Regions from separate parts of the Homo sapiens genome. Here all the other regions are linked to region 4. Evidence: promoter capture Hi-C in 16 types of primary human blood cells and fetal thymus (Javierre and others, 2016). All regions are on one chromosome and are shown on one strand. Each heading gives the region's core, a stretch centred on a gene start or on the middle of the fragment in contact. The rest is flanking DNA. Distances are from core to core; before and after follow the strand shown. Region 1 has its middle 61 kb from the start of PPARGC1B. Region 2 overlaps ARHGEF37 (Rho guanine nucleotide exchange factor 37). Region 3 holds the start of LOC124901104. Region 4 holds the start of SLC26A2 (solute carrier family 26 member 2). Region 5 overlaps ARHGEF37 (Rho guanine nucleotide exchange factor 37).

Region 1 (3,349 bases), core at 650-3,149, 290 kb before region 4:
TTTTTCTTATTACTCGTTAGGAATTAGGTGGAGTCTGTCACTTTTAGGCTCTGAGCCACCACTGAGTCTAATCTTCCACTCTTCAGTTGATCTGAAACTTCTGTTTTTTGGCTTAAGAACTAACACACACTTAGACTTGTCTTCCTCTTCCCTTTTATCACCAACACAAGTCGGCTTATTTTTCAACGAGTGTATCTTGTAGAAAGCCATTTTTTAAAAAAAATTATCCCTGGAGAATGTCAGGATAGGTGACAAGTGTTGACCTGTACCTGCTGGGCAGCAGGCTAGGCTTACAGACTGTTGTTATTCTTCCCAGCATACCAGCTTCCCAGGGCCATGATTTACATCTGGACCCAGCACAATGACTAATATATACCATGAACATTCTGGTTTGCTCACAAATAATTGAAACCAAACATTTAAATTAAACAATGCCAAGAATCTAAGGTAGCAAGCTGATGGCTAGCTAATTTCCTAGAAGCCCCAACAGTCCCACCTGTTATTTTTTTTTTTAACTTCTTAAATGCACAAATTTATTTTTTCTCAACAAACACACATCTTAATGCCTTTACAACTTTTATCTCCCCAAATATATCTTGCTTTTCTTTATACATGCTGTATACAGAGTTGTTTTCTTTATATTTAGTAGTTATTGCTTTTTTGTGCCCTTTTGGGTCCTGAATTTACACATCAGGCATAGAGCTTGGGACAGGAAAGAGCTGTGAAGCAAATTCCTGGAAGATCAAACCCCTTCCAGCATGGCCAGGTAGCACAGCTGAGCCAGGGATGATGGGGCCATATTGGGTTTGGCTCTGCCTTGCAGCTGGCAGTCCAAACACTGAGGACATGCATATATTTCTGCAGGCCTCACTATGGTCATCTGTCCAAACCCCAGAATCCAGAGACTCAAAACGAAATACAGTCATACAGTAAGATATGTGCAAGGTTTCAGGGAGCCCAGCAGCCAGACCTTACAGCTTTAGCTCAATTTAGACAAATCAAGCAAGTTTAAGAAATATTCCAGAAGTAGCAGTTTTATGACCTTAAAACATGTAATAGGCTGGGCACGGTGGCCCATGCCTGTAATCCCAGCACTTTGGGAGGCCAAGGTGGGCAGATCACTTGAGGTCAGGAGTTCGAGACCAGCCTAGCCAACATGGTGAAATCCTGTTTCTACTACAAACACAAAAATTAGCCAAGTATGGTGGCATACACCTGTAGTTTAGCTATTCGGAAGGCTGAGGCAGGAGAATCACTTGAACCTGGGAGACGGAAGTTGTGGTGAGCTGAGATCTCACCACTGCACTCCAGCCTGGGCAATGAGAGCAAAACTCCAGCTCAAAAACAAAAAACAAATTAAAAAAAAAAAAAAAAAAAAAAAAAAAAGTAATAGAGACAATGTAAACCTGTCTGTCAGTAGACCCAGGCAAAAACAATTATATTTAACTGACAATCCTGAAGCCTTTCCAATTTTCTTTTTCTTTCTTTTTTTTTTTTTTATTGATCATTCTTGGGTGTTTCTCGCAGAGGGGGATTTGGCAGGGTCACAGGACAATAGTGGAGGGAAGGTCAGCAGATAAGTGAACAAAGGTCTCTGGTTTTCCTAGGCAGAGGACCCTGCGGCCTTCCGCAGTGTTTGTGTCCCTGGGTACTTGAGATTAGGGAGTGGTGATGACTCTTAAGGAGCATGCTGCCTTCAAGCATCTGTTTAACAAAGCACATCTTGCACCACCCTTAATCCATTCAATCCTGAGTGGACACAGCACATGTTTCAGAGAGCACAGGGTTGGGGGTAAGGTCACAGATCAACAGGATCCCAAGGCAGAAGAATTTTTCTTAGTACAGAACAAAATGAAAAGTCTCCCATGTCTACCTCTTTCTACACAGACATGGCAACCATCCGATTTCTCAATCTTTTCCCCACCTTTCCCCCCTTTCTATTCCACATTGTCATCATGGCCCGTTCTCAATGAGCTGTTGAGTACATCTCCCAGACGGGGTGGTGGCCGGGCAGAGGGGCTCCTCACTTCCCAGTAGGGGCAGCCGGGCAGAGGCGCCCCTCACCTCCCGGACGGGGCGGCTGGCCGGGCGGGGGGCTGACCCCCCCCACCTCCCTCCCGGATGGGGTGGCTGGCCGGGCAGAGGGGCTCCTCTCTTCCCAGTAGGGGCGGCCAGGCAGAGGCGCCCCTCTCTTCCCAGTAGGGGAGGCCGGGCAGAGGCGCCCCTCACCTCCCGGATGGGGCGGCTGGCCGGGCGGGGGGCTACCCCCCCACCTCCCTCCTGGACGGGGCGGCTGGCCGGGCCAGGGGCTGACCCCCCACCTCCCTCCCGGACGGGGCGGCTGGCTGGGCAGAGGGGCTCCTCTCTTCCCAGTAGGGGCGGCCGGGCAGAGGCGCCCCTCACCTCCCGGATGGGGCGGCTGGCCGGGCGGGGGGCTGACCCCCCCACATCCTTCCTGGATGGGGCGGCTGGCCGGGCAGAGGGGCTCCTCACTTCCCAGTAGGGGCGGCCGGGCAGAGGCGCCCCTCACCTCCTGGACGGGGCGGCTGGCCGGGCGGGGGGCTGACCCCCCCACCTCCCTCCCAGACGGGGTGGCTGCCGGGCGGAGACACTCCTCACTTCCCAGACGGAGTGGCTGCCGGGCGGAGGGGCTCCTCACTTCTCAGACGGGGCGGTTGCCAGGCAGAGGGTCTCCTCACTTCTCAGACGGGGCGGCCGGGCAGAGACGCTCCTCACATCCCGGACGGGGCGACAGGGCAGAGGCGCTCCCCACATCTCAGACGATGGGTGGCCGGGCAGAGACGCTCCTCACTTCCTAGATGGGATGGCGGCCGGGCAGAGACGCTCCTCACTTTCCAGACTGGGCAGCCAGGCAGAGAGGCTCCTCACATCCCAGACGATGGGCGGCCAGGCAGAGACACTCCTCACTTCCCAGACGGGGTGGCGGCCGGGCAGAGGCTGCAATCTCGGCACTTTGTGGGGCCAAGGCAGGCGGCTGGGAGGTGGAGGTTGTAGCCAGCCGAGATCACGCCACTGCACTCCAGCTTGGGCACCATTGAGCACTGAGTGAACACGACTCTGTCTGCCATCCCGGCACCTCGGGAGGCCGAGGCTGGCGGATCACTCGCGGTTAGGAGCTGGAGACCAGCCCGGCCAACACGGCGAAACCCCGTCTCCACCAAAAAAATACGAAAACCAGTCAGGCGTGGCGGCGCGCGCCTGCAATCGCAGGCACTCGGCAGGCTGAGGCAGGAGAATCAGGCAGGGAGGTTGCAGTGAGCCAAGATGGCAGCAGTACAGTCCAGCTTTGGCTCGGCATCAGGGGGAGACCATGGAAAGAGAGGGAGAG
Region 2 (3,394 bases), core at 256-2,755, 340 kb before region 4:
GGCATGTCCGTGACATCCACTTTCCTGAGTTGGCTTGATCACCGTGCTTCCCCTCTTCTCTGTCGTTGCAGCCTCCAAGTACACCAAGGTAGAGCAGCTGACCCTCCGGGAGCGGCTGGCCCGCATCAACACACACACCCTCTCCAAGAAGACCACCCGGCTGAGCCAGCTGCTGAAGCAGGAGGCGGGGCTGATCCCCAGGGTGAGCGTGCGCCTGGGAGGAAGAGTCACATCCAGCCACCCCCAAGGCCAGGCCCTGCACAGTGGGTAGACAGGGGACTTAGGCTCCTTTCAGAACTGAGGCAATGGAGGCTGAGAGATTGAGGTGCTGGGAAGAGGCAGAGGTGGCACCCCACTTGATTCTGAAGAGCCAGTGGAGGGGTTTCTCCAGTGTCTTGGGCCACTCTCTTTGGGGCCTATTTACACAGATAGGAGAGCTGGTCTCTGGGTTTGGGCAAAGGACCAGCCCTAAATAGCTACTTCTAGCAGCACAGGTTGGTGGAGTGCCTGCTCTGAAACCAAGCATGCTCACACAATGAAATAAGTGTTCCCACTATCCCCATGAGAAAACAGAAACTCCGAGAGGGTAAAACCCTTGTCCAGAGTCACACGGCTAGGAAGCCAATGAACTGGGGCTCATGCTTGTGTATCCGATTCCATGCTCTGAATGTAAAACCACTGAGCTACACCACCCTCTCAGCTTTGGGGTTGCGAGAACCAGCTCTGGTGGGCGAGTCTGTGGAAAGGTTGTCCCAGTGAGGACCTGGAACACTGAAGCCGGTGTACACTGCCCCCATGTGGATATTCTCAACCCTCACACACATTACTTTCAGACAGAAGACAAGGAATTTGATGATTTAGAAGAGAGGTTCCAGTGGGTGTCTCTGTGTGTGACTGAGCTGAAGAACAACGTGGCTGCTTACCTGGACAATCTGCAGGTGAGGACACTGCAGGGTTCATAAAGGGCGAGTCTGGGCTGGGTTCCCCTGGCAGGAGGCTTGCAGGGCCCAGCCTACAAGCTGGGAAAGGCACCAGCCTCAGAAACCAACCAGATGAGGTCATCCTGTCTCATCTCTTCTGGAGAATGCTGGCCAGCACTCCTCAGCCCCAGGCCATTATACTGGGGGCAGCTCCGAGCCCATTGGAGTTCCTACCACATAGGGCCAAAATTCACTGGAAGCAGAGCCCCGCAGAGCAACTCTGCCAGACCAGCACCTAGAGCAGGGGAGACAAACAGGTGCCTAAAGGGGCCAGGCAGGTAATGCTACTGAGTGAAGTGTGCAGGTAACAGGCAATCCAATGCAATAGGAGCCTAGTGTCTAACAGGCTGTTTATGAGACTTTTCAGTGAACTTAAATATAAAATAATATTTGGAATTTGAAGGGCTGAATGAATGAATACATGAATCAAATCTAAAGGAGCAGCTATTCCTCAGCTCTGGGGGGTTGTTGCTGGGTGAGAATATGGGCCCAGTTCTTCTGACTTTAAGAAAAACACACCTGGAAATTCAGGTATTTTTCAGATTTTTGATGACATCTCCTGATGCGTCAATGTGAGCAACTAATTAAATGAAGATTTAAATGCTATGGGGCATTTTTTTAATGCATTGATGTAAATAGGAAAAGTTAGAGAAAAGTATTAATAGAACATGTGGAATATGGACATGGGAAAAAACAAACGCACTGCTGGGTGCAGTGGCTTACGCCTGTAATCCCAGAATTTTGGAAGGCCGAGGCGGGAAGATCACTTGAGGTCAGGAGTTCAAGACCAGCCTGGTCAACATGGTGAAACCTTGTGTCTACTAAAAATACGAAAAACATTAGCCAGGCAAGGTGTCACACGCCTGTAGTCCCAGCTACTCAGGAGGCTGAGGCAGGAGAATTGCTTGAACCTGGGAGGCAGAGATTGCAATGAGCCAAGATCATGCCACTGCACACCAGCCTGGGTGACAGAGTGAGACTCTGTCTCAAAAAAAAAAAAAAAGAAAAAGAAAAAAACCCCACAAAGGTGGCATGTAAATGTATGAAGTTCAAGAAGCACTGGAATGAGGAGAAAGATGTTGACTCAGTCTAAGGCGGAACTTTCTAATCACTTAAGCTGTGTGAGAATAGAATCAGCTGTGTGTGTCCCTCTCATTGGGGGTGTGTAGAGAGCCTGGAAAACCTCTTCAAGGTATGGTGGAAGGGGATTCCAGCGTAAGATGGCCATGACAGGCATGATTGGATGTTTCTCCTTGGTACTGGGTCCAGGCTTTCCTCTACTTCAGGCCGCACGAATACAATCTGGACATCCCCGAGGGGCCTGCAGTGCAGTATTGCAATTTGGCAAGAGACCTTCACCTTGAGGCCTTCCTGAAATTTGTGAGTGGAACCTTTCCTTTCTCCTTTCTTTGTTAGGCAGGTGGTAGAGCTTACAAGAATAATATTTAGAAGTCAGGCACTTTGGCCAGGCGTGGTGGCTCACGCCTGTAATCCCAGCACTTTGGGAGGCCGAGGCAGGCAGATTGCCTGAGCTCAGGAGTTTGAGACCAGCCTGGGCAATACGATGAAACCCCGTCTCTACTAAAAATACAGAAAATTAGCCGGGCATGGCAGTGTGCACCTGTAGTCCCAGCTACTCAGGAGGCTGAGGCAGGAGAATTGCTTGAACCCAGGAGGCAGAGGTTGCAGTGAGCCGAGATCATGCCACCGCACTCCAGCCCGGAGACAGAGTGAGACTCCTTCTCAAAAAAAGAAGTCAGGCACTTTACACAATTGCCACATCTGTAATCTTCCTGAGTGGTCAGCAGCATAGAGATTATTATTAGTGCACTTTCCTGATAAAAATAGCCCCCACTAACATTTATTGAGCCTCACTATCTGCCAGGCTCTATGCTAAGCCCTTTATATTCCTTACATCATTTAATCCTCACCATATGGTTTTGGGGGTGGCTACTTTGAATAACCCCATTCTGCAGGTGAGAGATTGAGGCTCAGAGGGGGTCACCTCCTGGGTCATTTATACAGATGGTCAGTGATAAGCTGGGATCTGAGCCCCAAAGACTCTTGACCACCACTCTATACAAAATCTTTTCTAAGGCTGGGCAAGGTGGCTTATGCCTGTAATCCCAGCACTTTGGGAGGCCAAGGCAGGAGGATTGCTTGAGCCCAGTTGTTAGAGACCACTGTGGGCAACATAGACCCTGTCTCTACAAAAAATAATAATAATAAAATTAGCTGGGTGTGGTGGCATGTGCTAAGGTGGGAGGATCGCTTGAGCCTGACAGGTAGGCTGCGGTGAGCTGTGATTGCATTGCTGCACTGCAGCCTGGGAGACAGAGTGAGACCCTGTCTCAAAAAAAAAAACAAAAAACTTTTTCAAGGTCTTTGCATAATAATGATTCAAAGTGCTATAT
Region 3 (3,142 bases), core at 184-2,683, 320 kb before region 4:
TTCCTTCTGTTCTTTTTAAAAATTTTTAGATGGAGTCTCGCTCTGTCACCCAGGCTGGAGTGCAGTGGCATGATCTCTGCTTACTGCAACCTTCAGCTCCTTCAGGTTCAAGCAATTCTCCTGCCTCGGGCTCCTGAGTAGCTGGGATTACAGGTGCCCGCCGCCATTCCTGGCTAATTTTTGTATTTTTAGTAGAGACAGGGTTTCACCATGTTGGCCGGGTTGGTCTCGAATTCCTGACCTCAGGAATTCCTGACCACCTAGGCCTCCCAAAGTGCAAAGATTACAGGTGTGAGCCACCGCGCTCAGCCCAAATTCCTTCTGTTCTAATGCATAGAGTAGTTTCTGCTTTCTGACTGGACAGCAAAATACCACTCAGAAGCCAGGGCTGCAGGGAGGGGCTGGGTCTTGGTGCTATGGGATCCCTGGCACCTCCCTGGTACCTGGTCCCTCAGGCAGCCCAGCCCTTGGGGAACAATGGAAATCATCTCTAGGTCTGTCTGCACCTTCCCTGGTTCAGGGGGCTGTCAGCCATTCCTACATGGAGCTCTTGGAATGTCTTCAGTCCCAGAAGAACTGAGCTGGTCATGCTCCAGTATCAGTGGCTGTGGTAGTCTGCTGAGCTGCCCCAGTCTTGGCTGGCTGAGACCATTACTGCCAGGCCCAGAGCAGACAAACACAGAGGAAATCCAAGGGCACTGTGTCAGTGCAGAGCCAGGGTTTGGGGAAGGGCCAGGCCCTACAGCCCTGGGGGAGGGGAGGAGGAAACACAATTTTCTAGCCATGATGCCTCAGCAGCATGTGTCTGGCCCCTACTCAGAAGGGGCAGTGAGCCCCAGGTTTGGGAAATGGGAAGTGGGATGGGGCTTCTGGCCAGGGCAGAAGCTGCTGGTCTTGGGGTCTCAGGGCTCCTGGGCACATCAGTAGAGCCTCTGGTGTGGGAATAGAGCAGCACGTTAATAGCAATAACTGCAGCATCTATTCACTACTCACAAGGCTGTTTGAGGTTAAACGAGGGAATCCACTTTACAGGACTAATTCAATGCCTGGCACATAGGAAGCTCTCAAGAGCTGCAAGCTAAAAGACCAAACACAAGTCTCAACAGCAGCCAGCTGCCATGGGCCTCACGCTGTTGGGCTGTCATGAGACTAGTGGTCTGGATGGAGCCCCAGGCCTCTCCCCTGGGGCAGGGCTGGAATTGGGGACACAGATCCAGCTAGAAGAGGGCCGAGTCAGGTGAAGGATCACGGGAGTTGGGAGGGCATGGTGATTCTGGGGCACACTCCCCAGGGATGTGGGGGAGGCAGCAGGTGTCCATCAGGCAGTTGGAGCTGCCGTGGGACACGGGAATGGGCATCTCCTAGTGTCCAGGCAGGTCAGAGGTCAGAGCCAGGTCAGACTGTGGGCAGCAGGGTTTCAATCTTTGGTTGGGGTTCAAGCACTAAGCTCTGGGGAAGGAGAGATCAGGCCGATGAAAGATACAGAGATCATAGCAGGAGGCAGCATTGAGAACTGGGCACAGGGTTAGAGTATGACTGTCAGTGCAAGGGACTTTGTATTGGGCTCTGGTGGCTGCCCTAGAGCTGCTTAAAACCCTCCCATATGAGGACAGCATGGTTTTAGGGAGCCATGTGGGGCCAGACTTGGGAGAGTGTCTTGGGATGAAGAGGTGGGGTGGTAGCCAGAAGGCCAGACTTCCCATGCAAAATACCCTCGTTCAAATCCTGTCCCCACACTTACCAGCTGTGTGGCCGCCTTCAAACAAGTTGCTTCATCTCTCTGACGCCTCACTTTCCTCACTTTCCTCCTTGTGGGCAAACCAGGAAAGAGTCCTGCCGATGGGGTTGTTGGGATGTGGACACAGGATACATCACGGGAGACTTTGGCACTCTGTCAGGCACATAAAAGTGCTTAATAACAACTTGATCCTTGGCCACACAAGCCAGTTTTGATCCCTCCCCCGCCCTTCCCCGTATTTCTTCCAAGTGTTGCAGGCAGCGACCCCACACTCACACCCGCTGTGCCTTCAGCTTTCTCCCTAATGCCCATGGCTCTGACCCTTCACCGCCGGGAATTCTGAAAAATACCCCATGGCTGCCTGAGTTCTTTCAAAACTGAAAGCAAGTAGATGTCTTAAGAGGCCAAAGGTTGTTCCCCTGGGAACGTAACTGTAACCATGTCCTCAAATACTCTCTGGCGATCAGTCGGCCATCTTGAGTTACTGCAGGCTCCAGGCGCCTCCCCGGTCTGCTGATGGTGCGGTTGCAGCTGATTGGCCGGCGTGTGGGAGTGCACCTTCCCCCTACTTTTTTGTTTTTTAATTTTTTAATCATCTTTCTAAATGCTTTTATTTTCATTTTTCATCCTCCCTGCTCCCCGAAAAAGTCATGGGTCAGAACAGCAACCATAAAATACAAATGCAAACACAGACCAGGCACAGTGGTTCACACCTAAAGTCTCAGCACTTTGAGAGGCCAAGACGGGAGGATTGCTTGAGTCCAGGAGTTCGAGACCAGCCTGGGCAACATGGTGAAACCCCGTCTCTCCAAAAAAATACAAAAATTAGCTGAGTATGGTGGCACATGCCTTTGGTACCAGCTACTCGGGAGGCTGAGGCAGGAGGATCACTTGAGCCTGCTGAGGCTGAGGCTGCAGTGAGCTGAGATCTCACCACTGCACTCACCAGTTTGGGTGACAGAGTGAGAAAAAAAAAAAGAATACAAACACATTAATACACACACACACACAATTGGAAAAATCTCAACATCCATCCCCTTCTTTTTACACACCCCCATCCCACCTCCCACACCAGAGATTCCAGGGTGTGGCACTCCCCTTAGGAGCATTGTGCCTCCACCCCTACCTTGAAAATCACAGCTACCAGCCAAAAGCACTTTGTCCAGATTTACTTTCTGTCATTTATGCTGTGGGTATAATTTTTTTGTTGTTTTTCTTAATGGATAACAATATGCATGTAATACATTATTTTTAATAAAATTAGATATTAAATTTAAATTATATAATCCTCCCCCCAAAATTCGGTCACATTTCTTTAGCCCCCTGTAAGGTACAACATCAACAATAAACACCTACCCTGCAACTTGGAGCTTGCAAACACCTAACCTGCAATTTACTAAGAGG
Region 4 (3,327 bases), core at 379-2,878:
CTTTGCAGTCAGACGTGACTGTGTTAAAATCATGCTACTGTCACTTATTAACTGTGGGACGTTGGGCAGATCACCTAACATCTCTGAGCCTCATTTCCTCACCAAAAAAAAGAAGAATCATAATATGGCACCTCCTCTAAAGCTGTTGTGAGGATTAACTCATGTAATGAATGTGAAGAGTTCTGCGCAGGCACGTGATAAACATCCAGAAACTGTTTATTCTGCTTGTTGTGCAGTCTTTAGGGCTTAAACAAAGTACTTTACACTGATTGCCTTACCTGACCCTCTCCAGGACTCTGGGTGCTAGGGCATTAACTACCCTTTGAAAGGTGAAAACATTGATGCCCATTGAGGTGAAATGATTTGTCTTCAGCCACAAGGGGCAGCATCAGGAGTAGAACCCAAGTGTTTGTGTTCTGATTCCCAAGACAGCTTATGACGTTTTGGAAACTCTGAATCTGATGGGTGACAGAAACTTGGGGATCATCTCTAGATAAGAAAGGGAGTTCCTTGAATGACTGTGAAGACGTTCACCGGAAAGGGAAGGAAAGGAAGTTAATCATGCTTCCTTCACAGGCCCTCCTTCACCCCCATCTAGTGGGCACATGCAAGCTACAAACAAGGTGAGGAATGAACAAATTAATACATACTCAATAGTGGCCAGTTCGAGGCAGATAATTAAATCAAGATGACCTGAAAGGATGTGACTGGCTGTGGCTAGTTTACACAGGGTGGTCAGGGACGGCCTCGCCATGGAGAGGGCTGGTGTTTTGGCTGAGACCTGAGAGACCAGAAGAAATCTGATGGCCAGAACCAATGTTTAGGTCCCTAAAGAGAACAAGCGTGGCGAGCAAAGGGGGCCAGTATGGGTGGAGATCAGCGAGGGAGGGGGGCAGAGATGAGTGCCCGAAGCACACAGTACCTTGGCATAGGGAGGGTTTGATTTTACCTACAAATGCCATTAAACCCACTAAGGATTTTAACAAAAACTACAATTACATTTTAATTTACATTTTATGTTTTATAGAGACAAGGTTCGGCTATACTGCCCAGGTTGATCTCGAACCCCTGGGTTCAAGCGATCCTCCCTACTCGGTCCCCCAAAGTGCTGGGATTACAAGCGTGAGCCGCTGCGCCCGGCCTTTTAATTTACATTTTAGCCTTCCGGTTACTGGAATCTTTGATGGGGAATGAGTTATAGTGAGGCAAGAGCCTCTAACATTCTAGGAGCTCTTTTCCCGTTCGGGGCCTCAATTTCCCGTTCTACAAAGGCGGGTGGGAGGGAACGGGGTCCCAAGTAGTACTGGATAAAGAGGTGGCCGATCGCAAACGCTGAGCACTTCAAAACTCTGGGCAGAGCGCTTCCGCGCCTCTCCTGCTATTTCACCCTGGCCACAGGCTAGCCGCCGAGGCCGGTCATCCGCTCTCTCCGCGGAGGAGTCAACGCCACGGAAGCAGCGGCGGAACCTCTCTAAGAATCCTTCCAGCTTGTGCTCTTCTGTCCAGGGCAGCCAATCGCGAGGAGGAGAGTAGTCAGAGGGCGGCACCCTCCCCGGTCTGGGCCGAGTTATTGGCTGGTGGTAGCGTCGCTCGCCCGGCAGTACCACGTGACGGCCTCGGCCGCGGGCGTTTACACTGGCTCTGCCTCCGGCATCTCTTCGCCGGTGCGTCCTCGCCGCGCCCGTAGGTCCCGGCAGCCGGGCCCCGCCTCCTTCGGAGTCCGAGCGATGGGCGGGGAAAGGGACAGGCAGGTATAGCTCTGTCGGCGCCGCGGTGTCCACCTCAGTCAGGCCACGGTGGAAGACGCGTGCCGCGGCGCCTGGTTGCCTGCAGCGGCCCGGACCCGAGAGGTGAGAAGAGGGAAGCGGACCAGGGAAGAGGGAGGGAGCGGTGCTGGCCGCCAAGCGGTCAGCGGGCCCCTCCCAGAGTCATTCTGCCTGGGTCCCCGCGCGGTAGAATCCCAGATCAGGGGTCGCCGCCGTGGAGCGGGGCGTGCGTCAGGTTATTTCCCGGGTGGTCCGGGGCCGGGCGAGTGGCACTGCACCCTGGTGATCCGGGCCTGCCCGTCTGGCTGGCGGCTGCCCACCCGCCCTCCATCCCGCGTATCTCGCCGTATCTCGCCGGGTGCCACGCACTCCGCTGCTTTTCCAGTCCTCGTTGATCCGTCTCGAACCTAGATATCTGGAATAGGGATCGAGGAGATAGGAGCCACCACCACCTCGGACAGATGGGGAAACTGAGGCCGGCACAGGCGAGACGGCTTGGTTATCTTGGTTATTAAAAATCACACACCCGATTAAGTACAAAATCAGGACCTGTTCTTTCGGACTCACACACTAAGTTGGTATTATTTCACTGGATGGATGGAAACACTGAGAAGACAGAGAGGGCCCAGAGCCTTGCCTAAAAATACACAGCAAGTCTTTTGCAGAGCTAGGACTTGTACCCAGCTCTCCAAACTCATAGACTATCAGCCTGGGCTCCTTCCTTGCACAGATTGGGGATCACAGTGAGTTAGAAACATTCAGAACTTAAATTGCCTTCCGGCGCCCATTCTAGTTAACCTGTCTTTTCTCCTTGTCCCCAACAGTTCTTTATGTGAAATCTACAACTAATGTGATATGCAATACTAGATTAAGCAGAACTTTTTGTTTTTGAAAATTGAATCAATAAGAAATGGAGGGCCAAAGCTGTGGGAAAGGAATGGACCCTTTAAAATCAGGAATCTCAAGGCAGGATATAGCAAGGGACAGAGACTAATAGCTGTCGTTTATTGAGTAAATGCTATGTGCCAGGCACTGTGGTAGGTAGTTGTGTTAGCCTTACAAACCAGCAAGTTAGGTAATGTTACCCCATTTTACAGGTCAGAAATTGATGCTGAGTACAGTGAAGTTTTACAAAACCATTGCCATATGACTGCTGAGCAGTATAGCTGGGATCTGAACAGAGATCTGTTTGACTTCCAGAACACATCCAGTGATTCTCCAAGTGTGGTCCTAAGCTCACTCGTTCAGCATCATCTAGCGTGTGGAGTCCTGGATCTCATCCTTGGATTTGCAGGGATGGTCCTAAGAAGCTAACGGCTCTCTGTATTTGACAATTATTGTACTGTAATGTGCTGCCTCCTAGGGGAAGATCTAGAGGTGAACATACTCTGGGCTAGGGGTAATTTTTGAGGGAAAAAAATCACTTTTTTTTAATTTCTGATTTGACTTTTTTTTTTTTTGAGACCAGGTCTTACTCTGTCATCCGGGCTAGGAGTGCAGGGGCGCGATCTAGGCTCACTGCAGCATTGACCTCGTGGGTTCAAGCAAACCTTCCACCTCA
Region 5 (3,234 bases), core at 318-2,817, 360 kb before region 4:
TCTGTGTGGATAGCTGCATTTTTTTTTTTTTTTCCTGATCCACCATTTCACAGAAGTCCTTGTGGCTGGGGGGGTCCCAGTTCTGTGAAGGAGCTTGTCTCCTATTCCTACCTGGGCACTAATGCCCAAGTCTCTGGTTCACTGAGTTTCAAATACTGTCTTCCTTACCCACCCCTCTACTTTGGGCCACAGCTGCATCAGCTCAGCTGCTCCCCACCGTAGTTTTCAATTCCCTGTTTGAGGGCCCTAGTGATTTCTTTTCCTCCCTTACAAGATCTGTCATGCAGTTAAAAAGTTTATTATAACTGATCTAGCATTCCTAAGTGTTTTGTAGTAGGAAAGTTTTTCAGATCATCTTGTCCATGGTATTGCCCTTTACGCTTTATTATTATTTTGAGATGGAGTCTTGCTCTGTCACCCAGGCTGGAGGGCAGTGGCACAATCTCGGCTCACTGCAACCTCCACCTCCTGGGTTCAAGTGATTCTCTTACCTCAGCCTCCCGAGTAGCTGGGATTACAGGTGTGCACCACCACACCCGGCTAATTTTTGTATTTTGAGTAGAAATGCGGTTTTACCATGTTGGCCAGGCTGGTCTCGAACTCCTGACCTCAGGTGGTTTGCCCACCTCAGCCTCCCAAAGTGCTGGGATTACAGGCGTGAGCCACCGCACCCGGGCCCTTGATACTTTATAAGTTAGAGATAAAGGATTGCAGGAGTTTCAGAGAAGAAAAGTGCAGCTGGTGGGAGTGAGAAATGAGGGGAGGATCAAGAGTAGCCTTAGAGAAGTGAATGCTGGGGGATAGGAACACAGGAGGGGGCATGGCAAGTGCAAAAGCAGGAAATGCCAATGCAAGTATGGAGAAGAGCGCTCAACTCTCTTTCCACTGCAGTACAACCTGTGAAGAGGAAATGAAGTTAGAGCCTGGAGTGCAGTCTGTGAAGGGGAAATGAGGTTGGAATCAGATCACTGAGCAGCAGGAAGCTACTAAAGTCTTACAGCAGGGCACACCATGTTCACAAGCTTTGTTTCAGGGAGTTTAAACTGGAAATGTGTCCAGAAAGAATGGGTGTGGTGGTGGCAGGAGAGCAGTGTGGATTAGGAAGGATGACTCTGAGGGCTGTGGAAATAGCCCAGGCGATGGGTAGTAAGGCCTAAATGGGGTAGCTGGTGGGATGGGGTGTAGGGGGACCACTGGGAGAGGGTGAAAGAGATTCAGCTGTACCAGATAAAGAAATCTAGGTCAAGAGCTGGATTGGAAATAGAAGAAAAGCCAGGCAAGCATGTTGTCTGGGTCCTGGGAAATGAATTCAAAATGTCAAGAATTATCTATTAAAAAAAAATTTTTTTTGTAAGAATCTTGCTCTGTTGCCCAGGCTGGAGTGCAGTGGTGTGATCTTGGCTCACTGCAACCTCTGCCTCCCGGGTTCAAGTGATTCTTCTGCCTCAGCGTATCTGAGTAGCTGGGACTACAGGAGCCCGCCACCATGCCTGGCTAATTTTTGTATTTTTAGTAGAGACGGGGTTTCATCATGTTGGCCAGGCTGGTCTCGAACTCCTGACATCAGGTGATCTGCCCACCTTGGCCTCCCAAAGTGCTGGGATTACAGGCATGAGCCACCACCTAAAATGTCAAGAGTTATCAGAGCTGTTACCTGCCTTTCAATATTGTTCAGGTACTGCCTACAAATGCTAATAAACAGTTCATCTTGACTCTGTTTGCAGCTTAAGATGTTTTTAGGCCTCTTGATGAGTAATTGTCATTGAATTAGAGACAGCATGTCCCAATAGTTCTTCCTGGAAGTGAGTGGGGATGCTTTTGCTTTTCCCAGAACCTGCTGACATGGCCAAGCATGGAGCCGACGAGCCATCCTCCAGGTCAGGGAGTCCGGACAGGGAAGGTAGGGCCTCTGAGGACAGATCGCTGCTTCATCAGAGGCTGGCTGTCCGGGAGCTCATCGACACTGAGGTCTCCTACTTGCACATGCTCCAGCTCTGTGCCTCTGACATCAGGAGCCGCCTCCAGCAGGTACTTGGGTGGGGTCACACACAACCTGTCTTTATAGGGGCAAATGTGGGTCCCAGCTTCTGAGATTTCTCATCCATTCCTGGGGCAAGCTTGACAGAAAGGAAGCGTGGTAGATGTGAAGTCTGACAGACCTGGATGTAAGCCCCAGTACTTCTTTTCCTTGGCCGTGCAACCTCCATCAAGGTCTTCCATGGCTTAGAGTCTTAGTGTATTCCTTGGCTAACTGGTGAGCGGAATAATCACTGGGAGACCTATGTGAGCTAATGAACAAGCCCTTTTCAAGTTTGGAACAGATTGCTTAAACTGACTCTTCTTCTTCTTCTTCTTCTTCTTCTTCTTCTTCTTCTTCTTCTTCTTCTTCTTCTTCTTCTTTCTTCCTCTTCCTCTTCCTCTTCTTCTTCCTCTTCCTCTTCTTCCTCTTCCTCTTCTTCCTCTTCCTCTCCTTCCTCTTCCTCTTCTCCTTCTTCTCCTTCTCCTTCTTCTCCTTCCTCTTCTTTCTTCTTCCTCTTCTTTCTTTTTCCTCTTCTTCTTCTTCCTCCTCTTCTTCTTTTTTTCCTGCTTCCCCTTCAAGGGTCTCTTTATTCGATCACAAAGTCACTGTCAGCGACTTGGCCTGGCCCTCTATGGCTTCCAACAAGGAAATGCTTAAAAGTCAGGAAATGCATTTGCTGCCTTTCCTAGTACCAAAAATTGACTACAACCTCTTTGGGTACCCTGAGATAAATCAATAGCATTTGCTTTTTCTTTACTTTTCTAACAGAATTCCAGAAAAAATAAATCTCATATATATATATCTATATATAGATATAGATATAGATATAGATATATAGATATAGATATATAGATATATATATGTGTGTGTGTGTGTATATATATATGTATATTTATATTTATATACACACATTCATATATAGAGAGATCCCTCAATCAAGAAGAGGCAAAGGATCCAGCATCCTCTGAGGTGCCCCTTGGCCTGGTGCAGGAAGGCCAGGAGGCACCAGCTGTCTTGGGAATCACCTTGAGATGTGCAGTGCTGAGCTGGTGTGGCATGGATGGGGGTCTGCAACAGCCTTCTCCCTCTAAGGAAGGTGGAACTAGGACAAACCAGGGGAGCCCTCACTCAAGCTTTCCACACATCCTGAAACGTGAGCTGTACCTGATGGAGCTTTGAAACTAAAACCCAAAGTGCAGATACAAAAGGATTCC

Evidence for each region. Contacts are between HindIII fragments. The CHiCAGO score rates a contact against its expected background, and 5 or more counts as called.
Region 1: a contact is called between a fragment that was not itself captured here and the fragment with the promoter of SLC26A2 in region 4, in 2 of 17 cell types (erythroblasts and megakaryocytes). The highest score is 6.5, in erythroblasts.
Region 2: a contact is called between a fragment that was not itself captured here and the fragment with the promoter of SLC26A2 in region 4, in 4 of 17 cell types (M1 macrophages, M0 macrophages, M2 macrophages and 1 more). The highest score is 8.3, in M1 macrophages.
Region 3: a fragment that was not itself captured here is called in contact with the fragment with the promoter of SLC26A2 in region 4 in 14 of 17 cell types (M2 macrophages, M0 macrophages, M1 macrophages and 11 more); the score reaches 15.6 in M2 macrophages.
Region 5: a fragment that was not itself captured here is called in contact with the fragment with the promoter of SLC26A2 in region 4 in 3 of 17 cell types (erythroblasts, M1 macrophages and megakaryocytes); the score reaches 6.3 in erythroblasts.

The regions. Positions count from the first base shown.
Region 1 is chr5:149,668,052-149,671,400 of GRCh38, forward strand. No RefSeq gene overlaps it. Among named protein-coding and RNA genes, the nearest start is that of PPARGC1B, 61 kb to the right of the region's middle. The HindIII fragment of the contact is 4,581 bases long and covers 1-3,349 here.
Region 2 is chr5:149,618,105-149,621,498 of GRCh38, forward strand. It overlaps ARHGEF37 (Rho guanine nucleotide exchange factor 37), which reads left to right. Exons shown (of 13, transcript NM_001001669.3): 6 at 72-202; 7 at 834-938; 8 at 2,250-2,360. Among named protein-coding and RNA genes, the nearest start is that of ARHGEF37, 38 kb to the left of the region's middle. RefSeq lists an enhancer at 1-254. The HindIII fragment of the contact is 5,427 bases long and covers 1-3,394 here.
Region 3 is chr5:149,639,258-149,642,399 of GRCh38, forward strand. LOC124901104 reads right to left here and starts at 2,224. Exons shown (of 3, transcript XR_007058990.1): 1 at 2,015-2,224; 2 at 1,742-1,891. The HindIII fragment of the contact is 4,395 bases long and covers 1-3,142 here.
Region 4 is chr5:149,959,130-149,962,456 of GRCh38, forward strand. SLC26A2 (solute carrier family 26 member 2) reads left to right here and starts at 1,629. Exons shown (of 3, transcript NM_000112.4): 1 at 1,629-1,850. RefSeq lists enhancers at 45-648, 445-524 and a silencer at 1,565-1,684. The HindIII fragment of the contact is 4,280 bases long and covers 1-3,327 here.
Region 5 is chr5:149,595,928-149,599,161 of GRCh38, forward strand. ARHGEF37 (Rho guanine nucleotide exchange factor 37) reads left to right here. Exons shown (of 13, transcript NM_001001669.3): 2 at 1,832-2,028. The coding sequence starts at 1,843. Among named protein-coding and RNA genes, the nearest start is that of ARHGEF37, 16 kb to the left of the region's middle. The HindIII fragment of the contact is 1,095 bases long and covers 1,021-2,115 here.